Linked DNA regions of Homo sapiens: region 2 is linked to region 1. Evidence: promoter capture Hi-C in 16 types of primary human blood cells and fetal thymus (Javierre and others, 2016). All regions are on one chromosome and are shown on one strand. The core of a region is centred on a gene start or on the middle of the fragment in contact, and the rest is flanking DNA. Distances in the headings are between cores, read along the strand shown. Region 1 holds the start of SMIM47 (small integral membrane protein 47). Region 2 holds the start of KLK2 (kallikrein related peptidase 2).

Evidence for each region. Contacts are between HindIII fragments. The CHiCAGO score rates a contact against its expected background, and 5 or more counts as called.
Region 2: a contact is called between the fragment with the promoter of KLK2 here and the fragment with the promoter of SMIM47 in region 1, in 3 of 17 cell types (erythroblasts, M0 macrophages and activated CD4 T cells). The highest score is 5.3, in erythroblasts.

Annotation. Positions count from the first base shown.
Region 1 is chr19:50,783,452-50,788,345 of GRCh38, reverse strand. It overlaps SMIM47 (small integral membrane protein 47), which reads left to right and starts at 2,186. Exons shown (of 3, transcript NM_001384597.1): 1 at 2,186-2,256; 2 at 2,345-2,404; 3 at 2,523-2,618. The coding sequence starts at 2,242. The coding sequence ends at 2,534. It overlaps LOC105372439 (a long non-coding RNA gene), which reads left to right. Exons shown (of 4, transcript XR_936026.3): 4 at 1-965. RefSeq lists a silencer at 4,440-4,734. The HindIII fragment of the contact is 13,889 bases long and covers 1-4,527 here.
Region 2 is chr19:50,871,398-50,876,291 of GRCh38, reverse strand. KLK2 (kallikrein related peptidase 2) reads right to left here and starts at 2,853. Exons shown (of 5, transcript NM_005551.5): 1 at 2,773-2,853; 2 at 1,412-1,571. The coding sequence starts at 2,818. RefSeq lists a cis regulatory region at 3,015-3,029, an enhancer at 3,015-3,029 and promoters at 2,828-3,181, 2,828-3,453, 2,828-4,894. The HindIII fragment of the contact is 10,018 bases long and covers 1-4,894 here.

The DNA of each region.
Region 1 (4,894 bases), core at 937-3,436:
ACTTGAATCCAGGAGTTTGAGACCAGCTTGGGCAACATGGTGAAACCCCATCTCTACTAAAAATACCAAAAAACTGGCCAGGTGTAGTGGCATATGCCTGTAGTCCCAGCCACTCATCGCTTGAGCCTGAAGTCGAGGCTGCAGTGAGCCCTGATTCTGTCACTCCACTCCATCCTGGACGACAGAGTGAAACCTGATGTTTAAATGCAGTTTTTCATGTATGTACTTCTTACCAAAATGAGATCATACAGAACCTGCAATTTTGTAACCTGCGTCTTTCAGTTAACCTCCTCTTCTCCTTGGCAGTAGTGCTTTCGTCTTGTCTGATACCCATTCCCTATTCAAATGTCCCTCCGTTTCTCCCCAAAGAGACTTTGTCTTGTTTTGTTTTTTGAGACAGGATCTCACTCTGTCACACAGGCTGGTGTGCTGTGGTACGATCTCGGCTCACTGCAACCTCTGCCTCCTGGGTTCTGATGATTCTCGTGCCTGAGCCTCCTGAGTAGCTGGGACTATAGGTGCACACCACTGCACCTGGCTAATTTTTGTATTTTTAGTAGAGACAGGGTTTCACCATGTTGGCCAGGCTGGTCTCAAACTCCTGACCTCAGGTGATCCGCCCACCTCGGCCTCCACCCACAAAGAGCCTTTATAACTTGTTTTGTCCAAGCCAAAACCCGGTCCAGGATCACCCCTCAAAGCTGGTCTTGTGTCTCTTAACGGATTTTTTTCAAATATAGCAAGGCTACTTGCTTTTGTTTTGCACTGTGGCATGGATTTGTTGGAGAGACGGTGCCGTTTGCTCTGCAGAATGTGTTGCCTTCTGGAATGTTCTGGGTAGTGCCGTGAGGTACCGTGTTTACAATCAATTCTTGTTATTCATAGTAGCGATGTTGTATAACTGTGACCACTGAATCAGCAAATAAGGACCCATTGCTTCATTAATAAAAGTATATATTTTTCTATTTATTTTCTATTTATTTATTTATTTTTATTTATTATTATTATTTTGAGATGGAGTCTCGCTCTGTTGCCCAGGCTAGAGTGCAGTGGCACAATCTCGGCTCAATTTAACCTCCTCCGCCTGGGGTTCAAGTGTTGCTGGTGCCTCAGCCTCCCAAATAGCTGGGACTACAGGCGTGCACCACCATGCCCGGCTAATTTTTTTGTTTTTTTGTTTTTTAGTAGAGATGGAGTTTCGCCATGTTGGCCAGGCTGGTCTCAAACTCCTGACCTCAGGTGATCCTCCCGCCCCGGCCTCCCAAAGTGTTGGGAAAACAGGTGTGAGCCACCGGCACCTGGCCTATATTTATATATATTTAAAGAGATGGGGTCTTACAATGTTGCCCAGGCTGGCCTTGAACTCCTGGGCTCAAGCAATTCTACTGTCTCACTTAACCAAAGTGTTGGGATTACAAGCATGAGCCACTGCACCCAACCCTATATATATGTGTTTGTGTGTGTGTGTGTGTGTGTGTGTGTGTGTGTGTGTGTATACATATACACACACACACATATATTTCCCCAATAAGTGTTCACAGTTGTACAACATAACTACCAAAAATAGCGAGACTATATCTGCCACAAATAACGCAAATAGCTACCTGAGTAGCAGATTGTATAGTCCCCATTTTTGTGGTAGCGATAGATAGGTAAATAGGTATCTCACAAATGTATCATATGTATTTTATTTTATTTTTTCTTAGTTGTTAGTTGTGGAGACAGGATCTCACTCTTGCCCAGGCTGGAGTGCAGTGGCGTGATCTTGGCTCATGGCAGCCTCAACCCCCTGGGCTCAAGTGATCCTCCCATCTGGAGGAGGAAATTTTGCCTGGGCCTCCCTTACTGTTCTCCTGGCCTGCAGGCTCCTGTTTTGAGATATTTCTATACCCAGAACTGACCTGGTCCCTCCCCTGCTCTCAACCCTCTCATGGCTCCCCAGCACCCTCCGGGGCAAAACCCAAACACCTCAGTATGGTGTTCAGGGTTGAGACTCTCCAATCTCACACGTCCCGATGTCACATTCAGACACCACATGTGGCGGGCCACACCAGGGTCTGTATCTGCCCTATGCCCCTGCCTGTCCCCTCTACCAGAATGCCCTTTCCCCGTTGCCATGGCCACCATTCTGGTCTCTCCGACAACCCCCTCTCGGAGTTCCAGTGGCTTCTCCCCCCTCTGGCTCAGAGGCCCAGGAAAGAGAGAGAAGACCAACCAAGGGGTGGCTGGAGTCCCAAGGCCATGAACTTTCAGGAAGTGAGGAGGGGTCTGGCAGGGAAGGGAGGCCTGGGGCTGGGCAGAGGGCAGGGAGGGGAAGGGTCCTGACCTCTGATCTCCCCCCCAGAATGTGACCCTGGCCATGGCCTTGTTCACCATCCTGACCTCCATCTATTTCTTCAACAAGGTGAGCGGGAGAAGAGCGGAGGTGGGGGCTGAGTCTCTGTCTCCCTGGTCCAGTTCTGTCATCTTGGTCTCTCTTTCTCTCCCACATCTCTGTATATGTCCCTGTTTTCCTCTCTCAGGCTCAGCAGTGAGAAGACACAGGACCTCCCCGCACAAGAGCCCTGCCTCTCCCTCTGCCATCGCTCTGAGGCCAGATAAATGTAACTGAATCCGCACATCCTGCTCCGCCGACCCACTGCCCTTGCGCCCGGCCTCGGGCCTACACCACACCTGGGGCTCTGTGTTTCAGAAGGGAGTGGGGTGGGGGTCCGGACTCCAGGGTCTGAGGTAGGAGAGTGGTGAGGACCCACCCTCGCAGGTTTGAGGCTAGGAGCTGGGAATCTGCGCTGGGTTTTCAGGGATGAGTAGGAGTCTGTGGGGAAATTCCAAGAAGAGGAAGAACATTTCAACCTGGTGTAAGGGCACAGAGGGAAGAACAAGCAGGGCACATTGAGCACCCGGCACCAACACAGGCTGCTGTGTACTTCGGATTTGTTATTTCCCTTGATCCCGTGATTTCTTCTCCATCAGACAAAGGCGAAAATCTTTGTCCAATGGGCCCCAAAAAACCACAGCCAGGGCAGCCAGAGATCCAAAATGTGAATGCACTTTGTCAGCTGCAGTGGGTCTGTAGTTATCGTCATCATCTTCATCACTGTCATACTGTATCAACACATCTTCCTCTTTTTTCTTTTCTTTTTGAGATGAGATCTCACTCTATTGCCCAGGCTAGAGTGCAGTGGTATGATCATAGCTCACTGCAACCCTGAACTCCCAGGCTCAAGCAGTCCTCCTGCCTCAGCCTCCTGAGTAGCTGGGACTGTAGGTGTTCACCACCATGCCCAGCTAACTTTTTAATTTTTTTTAGAGACAGGGTCTCACTATGTCACCCAAGCTGGTCTCTAACTCCTGGCCTCAAGCAATCCTCCTACCTCAGCCTCCCAAAGTGTTGGAATTACAGGTGTGAGCCACTGTGCTCAGCCTCTTTTCTTAACAAACTCCTATTTAACCTTCAACACCCACCAGCAATGTCCCTTCCTATAAAAATGTGCAGACCCGCCCCCACAGGCAGTTCGCTAGCAGCCCCCTTGCTTAGCGCCCTTCCCCCACCCCCTGCCTCTACCTCCAGCATCCTCAGGTCAATGCCCTGGGGGACACTTCCACCTTCAATTGCATTTCACCTACCTTCTCATCTAGTCAAAAGCAATTTCATTTCAGCTCAATATCTGAAAAGCCAGCTTTGGAGTAGGGTTGACTGCACGTGCTAGGTTTTCCTGAAAAAGCCCAACAAATTTCCTTCCATCCCTCCCTTCCTTCCTTCCTTCCTTCCTTCCTTCCTTCCTTCCTTCTTCCCAGAGTTTTGCTCTTGTTGCCCAGGCTGGAGTGCAACAGTGCAATCTCAGCTCACTGCAACCTCCACCTCCTGGGTTCAAGCAATTTTCCTGCCTCAGCCTCCCGAGTAGCTGGGATTACAGGCATGCGCCACCACGCCTGGCTAATTTTGTATTTTTAGTAGAGATGGGGTTTCTCCATGTTGGTCAGGCTGGTCTCGAACTCCCAACGTCAGGTGATCCACCTGCCCCAGCCTCCCAAAGTACTGGGATTACAGGCATGAGCCACTGTGCCCGGCCTCACCAATTTCTTTTTATTTTATTGTATTTTATTTGAGATGGAGTCTCGCTCTGTTAAACTCAGGCTGGAGTGCACTAGCGCGATCTCGGCCCACTGCAACCTCCACCTCCCAGGTTCAAGCAATTATCCTACCTCAGCCTCCCAAGTAGCTGGGACTATAGGCACCCGCCACCACGCCTGGCTAAGTTTTGCATTTTTTGTAGAGACAGGGTTTCATTATGTTGGCCAGGCTGGTCTTGAACTCCTAACTTAGTGATCTGCCCGCCTCGGCCTCTCAAAGTGCTGGGATTACAGGTGTGAGCCACCGCGCTTGGCCCCAAATTTCAGTAATAAACATTCATAGTTGCACTATAATTTTATCTCGAATTAATAGAAGTTTTGTGGATCACCAACATTTTAGGCTAATGTTTTAGCGTCAGTGGCAATAGTGCCCTCCTGAAGTTCTCAAAAGCTTCCCGATTTGGAGGCTGGCTTTACTTTCAAATTCTTGGCTGCAAAACTCCAAATAACCACATAGTGGCGGTGTTGCACTATTTTCTCAGCCAGAAATTGGTTGCCTTAAGGGTTGAGCGCAAGAAATAACTTTGGTTTTGGCAAAACCACAACTGTTTGTTTGTTTGTCTGTCTGTCTGTCTGTTTTTGAGACAGAGTCTCACTCAAAACCACAATTTTTTGAGACCGGGGGGCGGGGGGTCCTGGCCACTTCCTCCCTCCTCCCTGCCTGGGCTTCCTCCCCCACTGGACCCTCACCCCAGCCTTCTCTCTCTCTCCTCCAGTCCTCAGAGGGGTCCTCCGGGACCCAGAGCTGACCCTGTCCCTT
Region 2 (4,894 bases), core at 1,604-4,103, 87 kb before region 1:
GTGAGAGGCAGAGACAGAAACTGAAAGAAACGAAGTGGAAAAGAGAGAGCATAAAATGGCAGAGGAATGACAAAAACAGAAGGGAGAACAGTGAGAATTAGGATGAGCAAAGAAGAGACAGAGACAGCAAGAAATAGACATGGGGAAGAGGAAGGGAGAAAGAACAGAACCAGGAAGGGAGTGAGAAATAGACAAATGAGAAAAGGATGCGGGAAGTCAGAGAGAGAAGGAGAAACAGCAGAGAGGAAGCCAGGGGTGATACAGTGTGGGAGAGAAAAAGGAGGGAGGCCACGGGGGCATCTGAGGAGTGTGGAGTAGCAGGGGGAGGAGGAGAGGCATGAGGGTGGCTCACCTGCAGCTGGGGCTGGAGTGAGGGCTCTGTAGTGGCGGGTGGCCCGGCCCACAGCTCAGGGCCACGTCCCCCTTTCTCTCTCCAGCTCCCTTCCCCTCCTTTCGATTTTTTTTGTTGTTTGTTTGTTTGTTTGTTTTTTCTGAGATGGAGTCTTGCTCTGTCACCCAGGCTGGAGTGCAGTGGCACGATCTCGGCTCACTGCAACCTCTCCCTCCCGGGTTCAAGCGATTCTCCTGCCTCAGCCTCCCTAGTAATTGGGATTACAGGCGCGCAGCACCACGCCTGGCTACTTTTTGTATTTTTAGTAGAGACGGGGTTTTGCCATGTTGGCCAGGCTGGTTTCAAACTCCTGACCTCAGATGATCCACCCACCTCGGCCTCCCAAAGTGCTGGGATTACAGGCGTGGGCCACCGTGCCCGGCCACCTTCCCCTCCTTTCTTGTTTCCCCTTCTCCTTCCTCCCTCCTCAATTGTGCACCCAGCTACAGCTGAAACCAGCCCTCCCTGTGTCTCCCCAGGGTGGAGGGATGTCCTGCAGAGAGTGCTGTGCAATGACAGGCACCCCCTCACATGCACACACATTGAGCTTAAAGTCCTTCCTTTTTCTGGGTGCTCCCCACCCACCCTCACGGGGTGTGTTCAGTAGTGATGAGGAAGGGCTGAGGCAGAGACCCAGAGAGAAAGACAGGCAAAGAGATGCAGGGTGAGACACACGGTGACAGAGATGGCCACAGAGAGACCCAGAGACAGAGACGGGGGAGACACAGACACAGGGAGACAGAAAAGAGAGAGGGACATAGAGACCAAAACACAGTCATACAGACACAACCAGAGCCAGATACCAAGAGACACAGCGAGATCAGACACAGAGAGAAACCCAGGCAGCCATGGGGAGAGTGGTCCAGCCCCAGCTCTGCCTCCGGGTGCGACCTGGGCCAGGACCTTCCCTCTCTCCTTTAGTCTGAAGCCTCACCTGAGAAGTGACCCTGGGGGAAGCATCCCGCTGTTATTCCTGTGGGACACAGCCATTCCCTCCCCAGATCCCAGGGTCCTACTTACTTCTTTAGGCAATGGGCAGCTGTGAGCACCCACTGGGGGTGCACCAGGACACCCCCACAGTGTGCCCATCCATGACTGTACACAGCCACCTGCCAGGGTTGGGAATGCTTCTCACACTCCCAGCCTCCCACAATCCGAGACTGGATGAGGGGCACGGCACCTGCGGAGGGGGTGCTGGGTCAGGGGGATCAGACCCAAAAGAATTGGATAGGGGAGGGAGCTGAGCTGTGGGTTTGAAGAGACATGGGGGCAGAGGACCAGGACTGGGAGTCCAGGACACAAGCAAGGGGTCCTGGGAGGGCTGGCAATTCTGTAGCTATTCCCTGCGTTAGCGGGTTGGTGGCTGGACCAGGTCGGGAGGCTTCATGCTCTGAGAACGGAGCTGACCCCAGAGATCAGAGTAGGGGACATGGGAAACATCTGAAGCAGGCATCGGGTTGGGGGTTGGGTCATTTGGAGTGATTTGGGGTCTTACACTGGGAGAAGGGACACTGTGGTGGCAGCTGTGGGTTCTAAGAGAATAAGAGGTTCCAGAAACCAAGGATAAGTGCCCAGTGGAGAGGTTTAGTTGCTGGGAGAGGAAGGTTTTGGATGGTTTACCATGTCCAAGGTTAAGCAAACAGTTCTGCCTGAGTTGTTTCTTGCTTTGTTTTGTTTTGTTTTGTTTTTGAGGTTTTGAAAAGGGTGCGGATTTAGGGAATCAGAGAACTGGCCGTTGTGGTTGGGGGTGCTCGTGTTTTTCCCATGGAAAAAGCTAGCCATTGAATGACGGGTCTGGGGCAAAGAGTCAGGGAAGGAGGAGTTCTGAAAGTCCCAGTGCCAGACTCAGGGTGGGAGGCAGCATTTGTTGTCTCAGGCCAGATAGCCTCGGGGGGAAGAAGGAAGTGTCTGGTGGAATCTGGGTTTCCTGGGACAGGGTTGGGGAGCCAGGTGTCAAGGTCCAGGGGACAGGGTTGAATGCTCACAGCTGAATAGGAAAAGTCAGTAGACTGTGGTAGGACTGAGGGGCTCAGGAGGCAGCCCAGTGATAGGGTCCAAGGAACCAGTGGCATGGAGAGAGGTCCTTGAAAGGTTTTGAACCCCATAAAGAGAAACACAGAGATGCCCAGGAACTTGCTCTTTAGTAAAGCAGCTGGGAGCAGGGATTTGGCTGGGCAATGGAGAGAAAGGTCTGAGGTAAGTGGGAGGGAGCGGGGACCTAGTGTGGGCATGAGGACTATTGCAATGTGGAAGAGTCAGGGGCACATTGTCTGGGCTGAACTGTGGGCTGAAGGGACGAGGCTGGGGCACTGGGTGGGAGGAAAAGGGCTTCAGCATAAGAGTCAGAACCCGCCCCCCTTCCTTTATCCCCCCAATCTCACCAGTGCACCCCACAGACAAGGCGATGGAGAGAACCAGGTCCCACATGCTGACACAGGTGTCCACGGCCAGGTGGTGAGTTTGGGGCTGGGGGGCCTCCCTGAGGAGCCCTATAAAGCCTTCATTCTCCAGGACCCCGCCCTTGCCCTGTTGGCACCTAGATGCTGACCAAGGCCCTCCCCATGCTGCTGGAGGCTGGACAACCCCCTCCCACACCCAGAGCTGTGGAAGGGGAGGGAGAGCCAGCACTTGCTGTTCCACACATACTAGATCAGTCTGGAGGCATTCCCACGGTGTGAGGTCAGATTGGGCAGGGCCTATGGATCATGGAGATGTGATCTAGGGAACAAAGCCAGAGAAGGCAGGCTCAGGATGAACAGCAACAGGGGTTGGGATGATCACTGATTCTTTTTTAAAAAAATTCTGAGACAGTCTCACTCTGTTTCCCAGGCTGGAGTGCAGCGGCGTGATCGCAGCTCCCTGTAGCCTTGAACTCCCAGACTCAACCGATTCTCCTGTCTCAGCCTCCAGGATAGCTGAGACCACAAGCATGCACCACCACATCCAGCTAATTTTTAATTTTTTTGTAGAGAGAGGGTCTGGCTATGTTGCCTAGGCTGGTCTCCAACTCCTGGGCTCAAGCCATCCTCCCACTTCGGTCTCCCAAAGTGATGAGATTACAGGCGTGAGCCACCACGGCCAGCCCCAATCATTGATTTTCAATACAAAGTCTCATGTGCCTAAGTCCCAAGTACTTCCTTTGCACCCCAAACCTAATATGCCCTGAAATATCAGAATGATCGGATTGTGAGACTTCCTGGTCCCTATACCCGTCTGAGCCCAGAAGCTGGACCTCCAACTTACCATGTTCCTGAAATAGAAGCGTTGGCATTCAGTACTCTCTGATTCTTGCACTTCCACACTCAGAAAATGGTTCCCCACATACATTTCTCCCTCATCATAAAACCTTGTGATACCACATATTGTCCAATCCAGAAATATGACTCTCCCAGACCAAGTTCCCTATTATTTCAAAATCCAATGTCCACTAAACAATATGGGGTTCCGGTGGCTCCTCACTCCTCATTCTCCATGCCTGTACAACGTACAGGTACAGCGGGGATTCCTGTTGACCTGCCCTCCTAGGTCAGAATTGTCCTCATGCAAAATCCAATGCCTCCTTCTCACTGAAATGTCTAGCTATCAGGAGCCAGGTTTATACACTCCAAGATTAAGCTGCAAGCCAGGCACGGTGAGTGGCTCATGCCAGCAATCCCAGTGCTTTGGGAGTCCAAGGCTGAAGAATCACTTGAAGTCAGAAGTTCAAGATCAGCCAGGGCAACAAAGTGAGACCCTTTCTCTACAAAAAAAAAAAAAAAATTTAATTAGCCAGGTGTGGTGGCAAGCACCTGTAGCCCCATCTACTCAGGAGGCTGAAGCAGGAGGATCCCTTAAGTCCAGGAGGTCAAGGGTTCAGTGAGCTATGATCACACCACTGCGCTCCAGCCTGAGTGACAGAGCAAAAGACCCAGACTGTGTCTCAAAAAAAAAAAAAAAAAAAAAAAGAATTAGGGTGGCATTGAGAAATCTCATTTTGGTGTCTCAGAAAAGAATCAAGAATAAGAGTCCTGGTGTTAACTCTTATTATAAGAGTCCACTGTTAACTCTATAAGATTTCTTTGATTTTGAAAAAAAAAATGTGATTTCATCTGTTCAATAAAACCAGAGCAGCTTACGCTGATCCAGACCCAGCTGTGTCTCAAGAATTTGACAAAATCTTCCCCCATTTCCAGCTGAATGACCAGATCAATTCCAAGTACAGTGAAGGAGACAGAAGTGGACATAGATAATCACAATTCAAGACCAGGATAGAGGGATATTCACAGCCAGTGGCCTGATTTCCCCCACACAACCACTCGTTCCCTGGAATGACCGTCTGAAAGGAAATTTGCCTCAGCTTGAATGAGAACCACCTGAATCCAGTGTCCCAAGCATATCCTCATCCCCATGATAACCTCAACCAAAACCTGACCCAAACCAATTTAACACAGCCCAATCCAACCACATCACCCACAAGCCCAACCCATCAACCCAACACAACTTAATCTAATTCAAGACAACCCT